3 separate regions of the Homo sapiens genome follow, and regions 2 and 3 are each linked to region 1. Evidence: promoter capture Hi-C in 16 types of primary human blood cells and fetal thymus (Javierre and others, 2016). All regions are on one chromosome and are shown on one strand. The core of a region is centred on a gene start or on the middle of the fragment in contact, and the rest is flanking DNA. Distances in the headings are between cores, read along the strand shown. Region 1 holds the start of PIGH (phosphatidylinositol glycan anchor biosynthesis class H). Region 2 has its middle 2.9 kb from the start of PLEK2. Region 3 has its middle 9.6 kb from the start of MIR5694.

Region 1 (3,660 bases), core at 1-2,500:
CATACGGTTTAGATAGTTAGATAGTTTCCTGCAATTAGGGCAGTCTTAATTCTGCATATTTCTATGCTAAATTACCATGCTCTGAAACACGCTTTGACAGCAAAAAAGCGAATGGATGCAGTAATGGAAACAATATCCAAGTTACAAAAATAAATAGCCCTGCTGTACTTAGCTCTGATTAGATCACTTCTGGGATAATACATTCAATTCAGGCACTACATATGAAACTAGAACTTATCCTGAAAATTAGGATAATTCTTTTTATTTGAGAGCTGTCACAAAGTTACTGCATTTAACCCTCACAATATCATGAAGCTGGTATGGCAGGCATGAATTCTATTTTAGAGATGTAGAAAATTGAGGCTCAGAGAAAACAGGAATGAATCTGGAAATTGAGCACAGCTATCACACACGTCCAAAATTTCATAAACCTTTAGAAAGTACTTGAAATTGGGGAAGGGTTTGGGAGGAGGGAGGGTTAAAAAACTCCCTTGAAAAACAGAGATTAGGAAGAACTATAACACTCTATCTATACACACAGATAAACACACACACTTGTGGAGGCAAAGACAGTTTGTGGAAGTCTACGTAAAGTATTGTTAGCAGTACTACTTTGAGGAGCAGAAGGGATGGACGAGGAAGACCCACTTAGTAGTTCCTTGAACTCTTGGAATTAAATTACTGCGCGCCTATACTACATAGAACACATGGCAGTTAAAGTTTTAGGCCGTCGCGCAAGAACTAGATGTATGCTGAGTGAACCCACGGAGCAGAGCACAGCCACGGAAGGGGAATGTACTATCCAGGAGCACACATTTCACTAAACGTCATTTAAAGAGCTGTCCAGCAGCGGAATATCGTCCCCAGAACCCGTGAGTTCCCGCCCTCCTGTCCTATCACTGTAGGAGGGGCCGACCAGAGGTCCGGGCTCGACCAAAGACCCCAAAGACCCTCCCAAAGCCGAACCCCCTCCTTCGAGCGCGGGGAGGGGCCGACTTGCCATTACCTCGCAGAGGGTGAAGAGTCCGTAGGCCGCCAGCCACACCGTGCAGGTGACAGCGGTGAGCGAACGCAGCGAGAGCCGAGGGCAGCTGAGGCAGAATTCCCGGCAGGACGGGGAGTAGTAGCGGCGCTGCAGCGCCAGGCGGCCGCCGCAGATATCCGAAAAGCTCCGCTCATCCTCCATGACGCCCCCACTCGGCCGCCCGCACCGCGCGGCGCTGCACTGCGCTCGCCGGCCCTGGCCGTCTCGCCCGCTCCAGACCCGCTTCCGGCAGCCGCGTCACCACGCCCCGCCCTAAGCCTGCGCAGCCTCAGTTGCGCGCCGAGAGCTCTGCTGGGGGCTGATGGTTGTGCGTTCTTCCGGGCCGGCCTTGACTGTCTTCGAAAAAACCTCGTCGGGGCAATAGTTAAGTGGAAAGATTAAAATCGTTTTTAGACCGGGCGCGTTGACTCAGGCCTGTAGTCCAGCACTGGGAGGCCAAGGCGGGAGGATCGCTTGAGCCTGGGAGGTCGAGGTTGCAGTGAGCGGAGATCATGCCCCTGCTCTCTAGCCTGTGCGAGAGAGCAAGACCCTGTCTCAAAACAAACCCACAGTTTGTTTTTGTTTTGAGACGGAATGGCGCGACGTCGGCTCACTGCAACCTGCTTCCCCCGGGTTCAAGCGATTCTCCTGCCTAAGCCTCCTGAGTAGCTGGGATTACAGGCGCGCGCCACCACGCCCTGCTGATTTTTGTATTTTTAGTAGAGACAGGTTTCACCATGTTGGCCAGGTTGGTCTCAAACTCCTGACCTCAGGTGATTCGCCCGCCTCGGCCTCCCGAAGTGCTGGGATTACAGGCGTGAGCCACCGCACCCAGCCCAAACCCACAGTTTTAATCATGCTTTTGCTTGGCAAGCCGATTTCTCTAAGCCAGAGTGAGCCGCAAGGAGAGCCCACGGGTATTCATTTCACTTACTCTTTTCCTGTGCCGGGTAGTTTGAGGTGCTTGAGGATGCAGCAGTGAACGATGTTGATGACAGTCTCTGCCCTCGGGCAGCTTCCTTTCTAGTAGGAGACAATATGGAAATAAGAGAGTATCGTTGGCAATACTATGCTGACTGGCAGGGATGGACTGAGGACTTTACATAGGGCAGTCAGGCGAAGTCTCTAAGTAAGAGGACACTGAGTTACAAGGGTGACGAGCCAGACAGGACTGAAGGAGCTCTGGAGGAGGAATTTGCCAGAAAGAAAGACCAGGAAAGGCAAACCCCTCGAAGTTGGAACAAGCTTGGCTTAATGAAATAATCAAAAGGCGAGAAAGGTTGGTGTGTGGGGAAAACAGTTGGAAGCTGGGGAGGCAGGTAGGGGTCAGATCCAAGAGGGTCTTGTAGGGTCTGGTAAGGAGTTTGGATTTCACTGCCTGGGAGTTCTGTCTCCCAAATGACTGCTTGGACCGTGGTAGACAGGCAAGACCTGGCTGGGAATTAAGCAGGAGCGGGAGATGCAGAAGAAATGGATAATAAAATTACTAAACTCATGAGTAATAGTGGCCTATGAGTTCCATTTTTACTTCTGATGTGGCCCAGGAGTGGCTATGTGGACTGTCAAAACACTTGTGATGGGCTGGGCATGGTGGCACATGCCTGTAATCTCAGCACTTTGGGAGGCTGAGGAGGGCAGATCACTTGGGTCAGGAGTTCAAGATCAGCCTGGCCAACATGGTGAAACCATCTCTACTAAAAATACAAAAAAATTACCTGGGCATGGTGGAGCATGCCTGTAATCCCAGCTGTTCGGGTGGCTGAGGCAGGAGAATCACTTGAACTTAGGAGTTCAAGACCAGCCTGGGCAACAGAGCAAGACTGTGTCTATATTCATTTAAAAAAAAAAAAAGATCCATGGCATAAAGGTCTCACCAGCTTTAAGTCTCTCTGATGAAAGGTTCCGTTTCTTCATCTTCATTCAGAATTTTATTTCCCTTTCTTTTTTCCTAAAGGATTTCTTCAAGCACTTCTTTATTTTTCTAGTTTTATTTCTGTGCCCCGAATCTGACAATTAATACACTCCTTTTATTAGTCCGTTTTCACACTGCTATAAAGAACTACCTGAGACTCGGTAATTTATAAAGAAAAGAGGTTTATTGACTCACAGTTCCACATGGCTGGCAAGGCCTCAGGAAACTTACAATAATGGTGGAAGGCAAAGGGGAAGCCAGGCATGTCTTACATGGCAGCAGGAGGGGAGTGGGGAAGTGCCACATTTTTAAACCGTCAGATCTCGTGAGAGAACTCACTCAGCATCACGAGACCAGCATGGGGGAAATCCGTCCCCATGATCCAATCACCTCCCACTGGGTCCCTCCCCTAACAAGTGGAGATTACAATTTGACATGAGATTTGGGTAGGCACAGAGAGCCGAACCATATCACCCCTTTTACTATTGCATATATCATGTGTTTTATAATTATAAAAGTGATATTTGCTTATTGTGGAAAATTTGAAAAATACAGAAAAGAAAAAAATGTAAACCACCCATATTTCCATCACTCAGAGATAAGTACTGTTAATGTTTTGGGGAAGCCTGTAGTCCTGGAGTTCTTAACTTGGGCTCCACGGATAGAATCAGTGTTTCATTTTTAGTTTCATTAACTTCTAATTAAAATTTAACATTTCTTTTGA
Region 2 (3,660 bases), core at 830-3,329, 180 kb before region 1:
TTAGAACACAGTCACACATTTTTTTAAAATTTATTTTTATTTATAGAGACAGGGTCTCACTATATTGTCCAGACTGGTCTCGAACTCCTGGGCTCAAGCAGTCCTCCTGCCTCAGCCTCCCAAAGTGCTGGGATTGTGGGCATGAGTCATGGGGCCGGTCCATATTATTTGTGCTCCAGTTTGAAGGGCCCTGTCAGGACTCTTCACCAGGCATGGGAAAGGCCCTCAGATGCCTGTAAGGGAAGAGAAGGCTCTAGAGAGGAAGAAGGTGAACCAGCTTGTGGAAGGCGGGGGGTGCCTTTCAGAACCAGACTGAAGCCAGCTCCCAGGCCAGTCCCTGCCCTGGAGCTCTTGACACAGTGTTGCTTCTACATGTCTGTAGTAGACATATTACATCCCCCCAACCCCACTCCCACCTGCCAGCCCCAAGGAAAACTCGCAGGGTCTGGGTCACTGCGTGCCAGCCCAATGGCCCACTCTAGCCTTCTGCACTAACTGGCCTTCAGACTTCCCAGGAAGCCCCAAAGCAGTGGGGCTTCCATTCCAATTCAGAATGAACATCAGCTGGTCACCTTCTGAAGCCAGGCCTGTAGTAGTAGGTGCTAGGTTTTATCTAAAGTACAACAACCCCATGAGGTGTTTATTATGTCATTTTCCAGTCAAGGAAACTGAATCCAAGTAGTTAAATAACTTGCCCAAGGTTATGCAGCTCCAGGGCATTGCAAATACTCTTGCCTCCTAAGGAATTGTCCCAGCTCTGAAACCTAGCTGGGCTGAAAGCCAGGACTTGAGAGGTTGAGCTGGGAAGTTCTCATCCTCTTCGGCTCTAACTGTGGTCTATCCATCTCCTTCCTCAAAGAGGCTGTCTTGGCCCCACCCAGACACAATCTTCTGAGGCTTAGAAGAAGTGGCATTTTCTTTGGCAGGAGGGGTTCTTGAATGAATTCACAGAAATGGGAATGGGAAAGAGATGGATACCTTCTCCTGGCAGGGCTCCTGCCAGGAAGAAGTTAAGGCACACCTAGAACCTGCTTCCTGTCCTAGGAAACCCCTGGTCCAGCCCACCCTGCCTGACTCACTGGATCTGGGGCATGAGTCATACCCCTTCCTTCCCCAGGCTGTGGTGGCTGAGCCACCAGCCCACCAGGGAACCATGATGACATAAGCCCAACTCACCCATAGGGAAGAGGATGGAGACAGAAGGAAGCAGACAGCAGTAAACAGCTGGGGGAGGGGGCAGGGACGAGCAAGAAGCTTTCAGAGAGACACCCCTCCTCTCCCTCTCAGGCCTGGAGGCTGATGTGGAAGGGTCCCTGGCCCTCTCAGCTCCTCCCCTTTTTGTCCCGAAGGGACAGGGACAGATAATGCCTAGGGTGCTGAGTTGCAGAAAACTATTAGGTCTGTGTTTAAGTATAGGTGACTCACAGCCTGATGTGAGAATCTATCATTAGAGATTCATTCCTTTAGCTTCAGATAAGAATCCCCTGTTTAAGATACATAGAGTGGAAAAGGATAAATCATGGAAACTTATTCACAATAAATGCCTGGACTTCTTGAGTTTACCGGAATCACAGAATCAGAATCTAATCCCTAAAGATCACCAAATCCGGATGCTTCATTTTATAAATGAGGACCCTCAAAGCCCAGGGAAATAAAATGACTTGTCCAAGGTCTTGCAGCCAGTTAGTGGTAAAACCAGGGCCAGAATACAGGCTAACAGAGCTCAAGGCTGGCTCCTGGCAAATACAGGGCAATGCCCCCAGCAGCGACCTGCATCAGAGCATCCTGCAGTGAGAGGGGGGCTGCAGGCCTGGAAGGGCTCTGTCTGCAGAACTGGAAAAGACTTCAAAAAATCCTTCTACATTTTTTTCTGAACATAAAAATACATTTGTGCATATTATAGAATATTTAGAAAATACCAAAAGGGATAAAACCACCCTGAATCTATCACTCAGACAGATGATCAGTATGTTTATATGCACATACTTTTAAATTAAATTTTATTTAAAATTTTTGAACCCTGCCTTTTTTTTTAACTTATAATAGCTAATAAGTATCTTACCAGGTCATTAAAAGTAATTCAAAAACATAATTTAAATAACTGCATAAAATTTCATGGTGACTGAATTTAATCATTCCCATGTAGGTTGAATTTCCTTTTTCACTGTGTAAATAGTATTATGATAAATATCTCTGTACATACACATTTTGCCAGATCTCTGATTATTTCAGATAAACATCTAAGGTATAATTTTAGGTTAAAGGGTGTAAATTTTTAAAATTCTTGAAGCATATCACAAAACTGCTTTCTAGAAATGTATCACATGCTATCCTCACCAGCAGCGTATGACAATGCCAGTCTCACTGCGTCTACGCCAGCATTCAGTATAGTATTTTCAGGAATATACATCATTCTATTATAAAGATACATGCATGTGTATGTTCATTGCAGCACTATTCACAATAGCAAAGACATGGAATCAACCCAAATGCCCATCAATGTTAGACTGGATAAAGAAAATGTGGTACGTATACACCATGGAATACTATGCAGCCAAAAACAGGAATAAGATCATGTCCGTTGCAGGGACTTGGATGAAGCTGGAAGCCATTATCCTCAGCAAACTAACACAGGAACAGAAAACCAAACATCGCATGGTCTCACTTGTATGTGGGAGCTGGACATTGAGATCACATGGACACAGGGAGGGGAATAACACACACTGGGGCCTGTCAGGGGATGTGGCGGGAGGGAGAGCATCAGGAAAAATAGCTAGTGCATGTTGGGCTTAATACCTAGGTGATGGGTTGATAGGTGCAGCAAACCACCATGGCACACATTTACCTGTGTAACAAACCTGCACATCCCGCACATGTACCTTGAAACTTAAGATAATTAAACAAGAAGCTTTGCTGATTTTAAAAATGTATTTGCTTATTTATTTTTTATCAGCCCACATCATGCTTTGAGTAGAAAGCTTTGCTGATTTTCTCAGAACCAGCAGGGACAACCCCCACTTGCGTAAGCTGTGTGTTATCTCAGTCAAGGCTGAGCCCTGCTACCTGGGGGACGGCCAGCTAGAGGGACGTCCCCTGGAAGAGACTCAGAACTGAGAAGTTGCTGGAAAACTGCTAGAGAACTGGGCGGTGAAGTCCCAGAGTAGCGCATCATTTGTAGGAAAAGGAGGGCGTGTGGGGTCCCGGGCAGCCAGGAGAGCACCCTGAAGGCACTGAAAAGATTGGGCAGAGGCAAAAAGCCAGAGGAGACAGGAGCTAGAAGTACAGGCAGGAAAAGACTAAAGAGAAATTTTGCCTAATTCGTGGCTATGCCCAAGGCCATCCAGCTAGTTGCTCTGCTACAACAGAAATGTATATTCATTCATCTGTCAATTCATTCATTCATTCACTGAAGCAGGGAGACAGATACTGAGAATGTCCGTGTACAAAGCACGGACAGTGCCATGGGTGACACACAGACCTGCCCTGGGGCCTCATATGTCAGTGTAAACAAGGTATCTTTTCCATTAACAGCAGCATTGTTGATTAACAGCATCTTTTGTACTAATTCCGGGGACACTGCAGTTCACAGGGCAGATGCTCCACCATAAAGGTGAGGCTTCTCACACTATCTGTGGTGAAGACTGGACTTCTGAGCTGTGA
Region 3 (3,660 bases), core at 705-3,204, 170 kb before region 1:
CCACGTGGGCTCACGTGACTTTGCTATAAGCCCTCCATCCTAAGGAAAGAAGAAGCAGGAGTGCTTTCTCAACTGGCAGAGTGGTGACCGAGTGGAGTGTCACATCAACTGGTGTCAATGGCATCACGGGGATAAGATCTGGAGGAGGCAGGTGGCAACGGGGCCTGTGGAGTGGAGTCTTGGTGGAGGGGCTGGGCAGTGAGTGACCGGTGCAATATCAGGCGCTGCCCCAGGACATTGACTTGATGAAAGGCCCAGAGACCTCAGGACTTTGGAGGGCCTGCTCATCAGTAAGGGGCAGAGAGCTCCTCATTAAGTGGACCACAAAGCTTAACGTCCCATTCTGATCCCCTGAGGATTCTGTGATCAAAGCAGTCCCTTCCTGCTGTGACTTTGGTATGAGCATAAAGCCTCAAAGTGTGCAGGGCTGGGGATCGGGGCACCAGCTTCCCAAATACGCCTTTGTGTTTACATACAATCCTATAGGTGCCCCAACAACCTGGCAGGAGAGTCCCTATTCTCTCTAGATTTCAGAAAGACAAATCAAACCATGGGAAATCCATGGCAGGCATGAACAGCTAATTCTAGTTCACCAAATCTGGGCTAACAAGAGCAGATAAAAAGGGTTCAGCATAGGCTGGGCGTGGTGGCTCACGCCTGTAATCCCAGCACTTTGGGAGGCCGAGGCGGGTGGATCACGAGGTCAGGAGTTCGAGACCAGCCTGACCAACATAGTGAAACCCCATCTCTACTAAAAATACAAAAATTAGCTGGGCATGGTGGCGCTTGCCTGTATCCCAGCTACTCGGCAGGCTGAGGCAGGAGAATTGCTTGAACCTGGGAGGCGGAGGTTGCAGTGAGCCGAGATCGCGCCACTGCACTCCAGCCTGGGTGACAGAGTGAGACTCTGTCTCAAAAAAAAAAAAAAAAAAAAAAAAAAAAAACGGTTTAGTGTAATCCCAGCATTTTGGGAGGCCAAAGTAGGAGAATCGCTTGAGCCCAGGAGTTTGAGACCAGCCTGGGCAACATTATGAGACCCCATCCCTACCCAAAACATTTTAAAAATTAGCCCAGTGTTGTGGCACACATCTGTGGTCCCAGCTACTCTGGAGGCTGAGGTGGGAGGATCGCTTGAGCCCAGGAGGTCCAGGCTGCAGTGAGCTGAGATGCCACCATTGCACTCCAGCTGGGGTGACAGAGTGAGACCCCAACTCAACAACAGCAGCAGCAGCAGCAGCAGACCAAAACAGCGGCAAAAAAGGTTGGGGAAATGTGAGCTGGGTTGTGTCCCAGAAGCTCCCACATGGAAACTGGGGTGGGGGAAGGGAACAGAGGTTTCCGCAGGGGGCAGTCAGTGCCCATACTCTAGATGTCATCTTTGGGTGAGCTTGGAACTGGAGCACAATTTTATCTACTTTTTCTTCTTCATTTTGCATATTAAAATCTTTTAATAGGATAAAAAGCAAACATCTTTATTTAATGTGTTCATGTTGCGCTCACAGTGATTACCCTTAAATTTTTTAACATATTCTTTTCAATATGTACATGAAAATGTCACATAGAACAAAATGGAATATAGTGAGAAGTGTGTCTCTCCTGCCCCACAGGCAGCCACTATGAATTGGTAACATCTGCCCAGTGCTTTCCAGCTTAAAGAATGTGTGCTCATAAATTATCTCGTCGGATCCCAGCAACAACTCCCTAAGATATGTTGGCCCTAAATCATTATTGTCTCCACTTACAGATGGGAAATCCAGCTCCAAGAGGTTAAATGATCTGCCCAGAGTTAGGCATCTAAAGAATGGCAGGACCAAGATTTAGACCCTGGTGGTCAGAGCCCAACTTCTGAAGCCTTTGAATTACACCACACTGCCTTCCTTGGCGAACGAGCCCTGGTTCTTAGAACCTGGAATGTGCCATAAATAGTTCGCCTTCTGCAAAGAGAGACTTGCAGTTGGTCAGGAAACAGAAAAATATCTCCTGTCTTGAGTATTTACCTTCCAGAATGGACTGTTCATTCTCTGCTCTGAGACACGTTTACAAGGACACCTCTCTTCTGTGTTTTAGAGCATCGTACCTTTAAAAGTCAGCAGCGGGCAAGCTCTCAGGACAGACTATGTGAAGAGCCTGGTGTTCTAGGGCTGCCATGACAAATTGCCACAAACTGTGGGGCTGAAATAAACAGAAATGTATTCTCTCATGTTCAGGAGGACAGAAGTCCGAAACCAAGGTGTTGGCAGAGTTGGTTCTTTCTGGAAGCTCTGAGGGAGAATCTCGGGCTTCTCTGCTGCCTTATGGTGGTTGCCGGCAACCTGGGTGGTCCTGGGTTTGTAGGGGCATCACTCCAATCTCTGTTTTGGTGGTCGCATGTGGTGTTTTCCCTGTCTGTGTGTCTTTGTTTTCTCTTTTATAAAGTTCCCAGTCATTTGATTTAGGGCCCACCCTCATCTAGGTATGACCTCATTTTAAGTAATTATGTCTGCAGAGACCCTGTTTCCACATAAGGTCACATTCTGAGCTTCTTGTTGAGCTTGAATGTTAAGGAGACACCATTCAACGTAGTCCTCTCTGTTTTTCTGTTTTGTTCAATAAATAGGGAGGGCACTTTTAGAACATTCTGACTCTTCCTTAACCAGCCATGTCCCAACCCAGGAAGTTGATGCCCATCTTACAAGGAGGGCCAGAAAAAGGGAACAAGGCACACAGAGGTATCCTCAGAGCTGATGGATGGCTGCTGGCAGATGCCCAGAAACAGGTGCTGGGCCTGGAGGGTGGAAGTATATACCATGGTAGCTACATGGTTTGGTGTCAAAATACTTGTATTTTAGTGAGCATGAGAATGAGAGTAAGAGTGGGACAGAGAGAAGAGAAAAGGGAGGGAGAAAGATGGCTTATTCACACACAAAAATTTAGTGGTTCAGAATTAATTTAACTTGGAATAAATGATTTTTTTTTCAAAGAAAATTTTAAAGTTGGAGGTATAGAGGAAAACGTGAAAGAATACAGAGATGTACTTTGATCCTAATTGTGAAGTCTAAATAGTTAAAACTAAAATGGAATATAAAGACAAATGAGACGCATCCTATAATTCAACAACAACAACAACAACAAACCCATTAAAACTCATCGGGAGTATGAATGGACAAAATATCAAAAAAATTTTTGTGGGGGAAAAAGAAGGAGGAGGGTAAACTTAAAAAAGCAGTCATCACTATATTTCACTGGGGTAAAGACAAGAAAAGTTGGCCAGGGTAATAGAAGAGACATACTCTACAGAAACAAATTCAAGCTATTTAAAGACTTGATATAAGATGAATAAGCATCAACACAATGCTACAAGAAAGAATCACTGTTTAACAAATATCGTCTAAGTGGGTCATAAAAAGCCAGAGAAAATGGGAAAGCAAATGTGTTTCCACTGTGATGAGAAGAAAACATTTTGACTATTGATGAAATTAGATATCAGAGACAGGATGGACGGATCTAAATGTGTTTTTAAAAGCCTTTTGTGCCACAGAATGTAATAAAGCAAACACAAAAATGAAAGCCACAGATGGGGGAGAAATATATGTGGCAAATTAAGCTTTCTATCCAAAATAGCTAAAGAACAGATCTAACTATAAAAGGCCAGTATCCTGCTCCTTTTTGATAAGTACTCAA

The links. Contacts are between HindIII fragments. The CHiCAGO score rates a contact against its expected background, and 5 or more counts as called.
Region 2: a fragment that was not itself captured here is called in contact with the fragment with the promoter of PIGH in region 1 in 1 of 17 cell types (M1 macrophages); the score reaches 5.2 in M1 macrophages.
Region 3: a fragment that was not itself captured here is called in contact with the fragment with the promoter of PIGH in region 1 in 7 of 17 cell types (fetal thymus, naive CD4 T cells, M0 macrophages and 4 more); the score reaches 6.0 in fetal thymus.

The regions. Positions count from the first base shown.
Region 1 is chr14:67,599,018-67,602,677 of GRCh38, forward strand. PIGH (phosphatidylinositol glycan anchor biosynthesis class H) reads right to left here and starts at 1,251. Exons shown (of 4, transcript NM_004569.5): 1 at 1,007-1,251. The coding sequence starts at 1,186. It also overlaps a transcript of GPHN not described here. RefSeq lists an enhancer at 929-1,248. The HindIII fragment of the contact is 5,160 bases long and covers 1-2,267 here.
Region 2 is chr14:67,413,241-67,416,900 of GRCh38, forward strand. It overlaps a transcript of GPHN not described here. Among named protein-coding and RNA genes, the nearest start is that of PLEK2, 2.9 kb to the left of the region's middle. The HindIII fragment of the contact is 1,654 bases long and covers 1,253-2,906 here.
Region 3 is chr14:67,430,478-67,434,137 of GRCh38, forward strand. It overlaps a transcript of GPHN not described here. Among named protein-coding and RNA genes, the nearest start is that of MIR5694, 9.6 kb to the right of the region's middle. The HindIII fragment of the contact is 3,254 bases long and covers 328-3,581 here.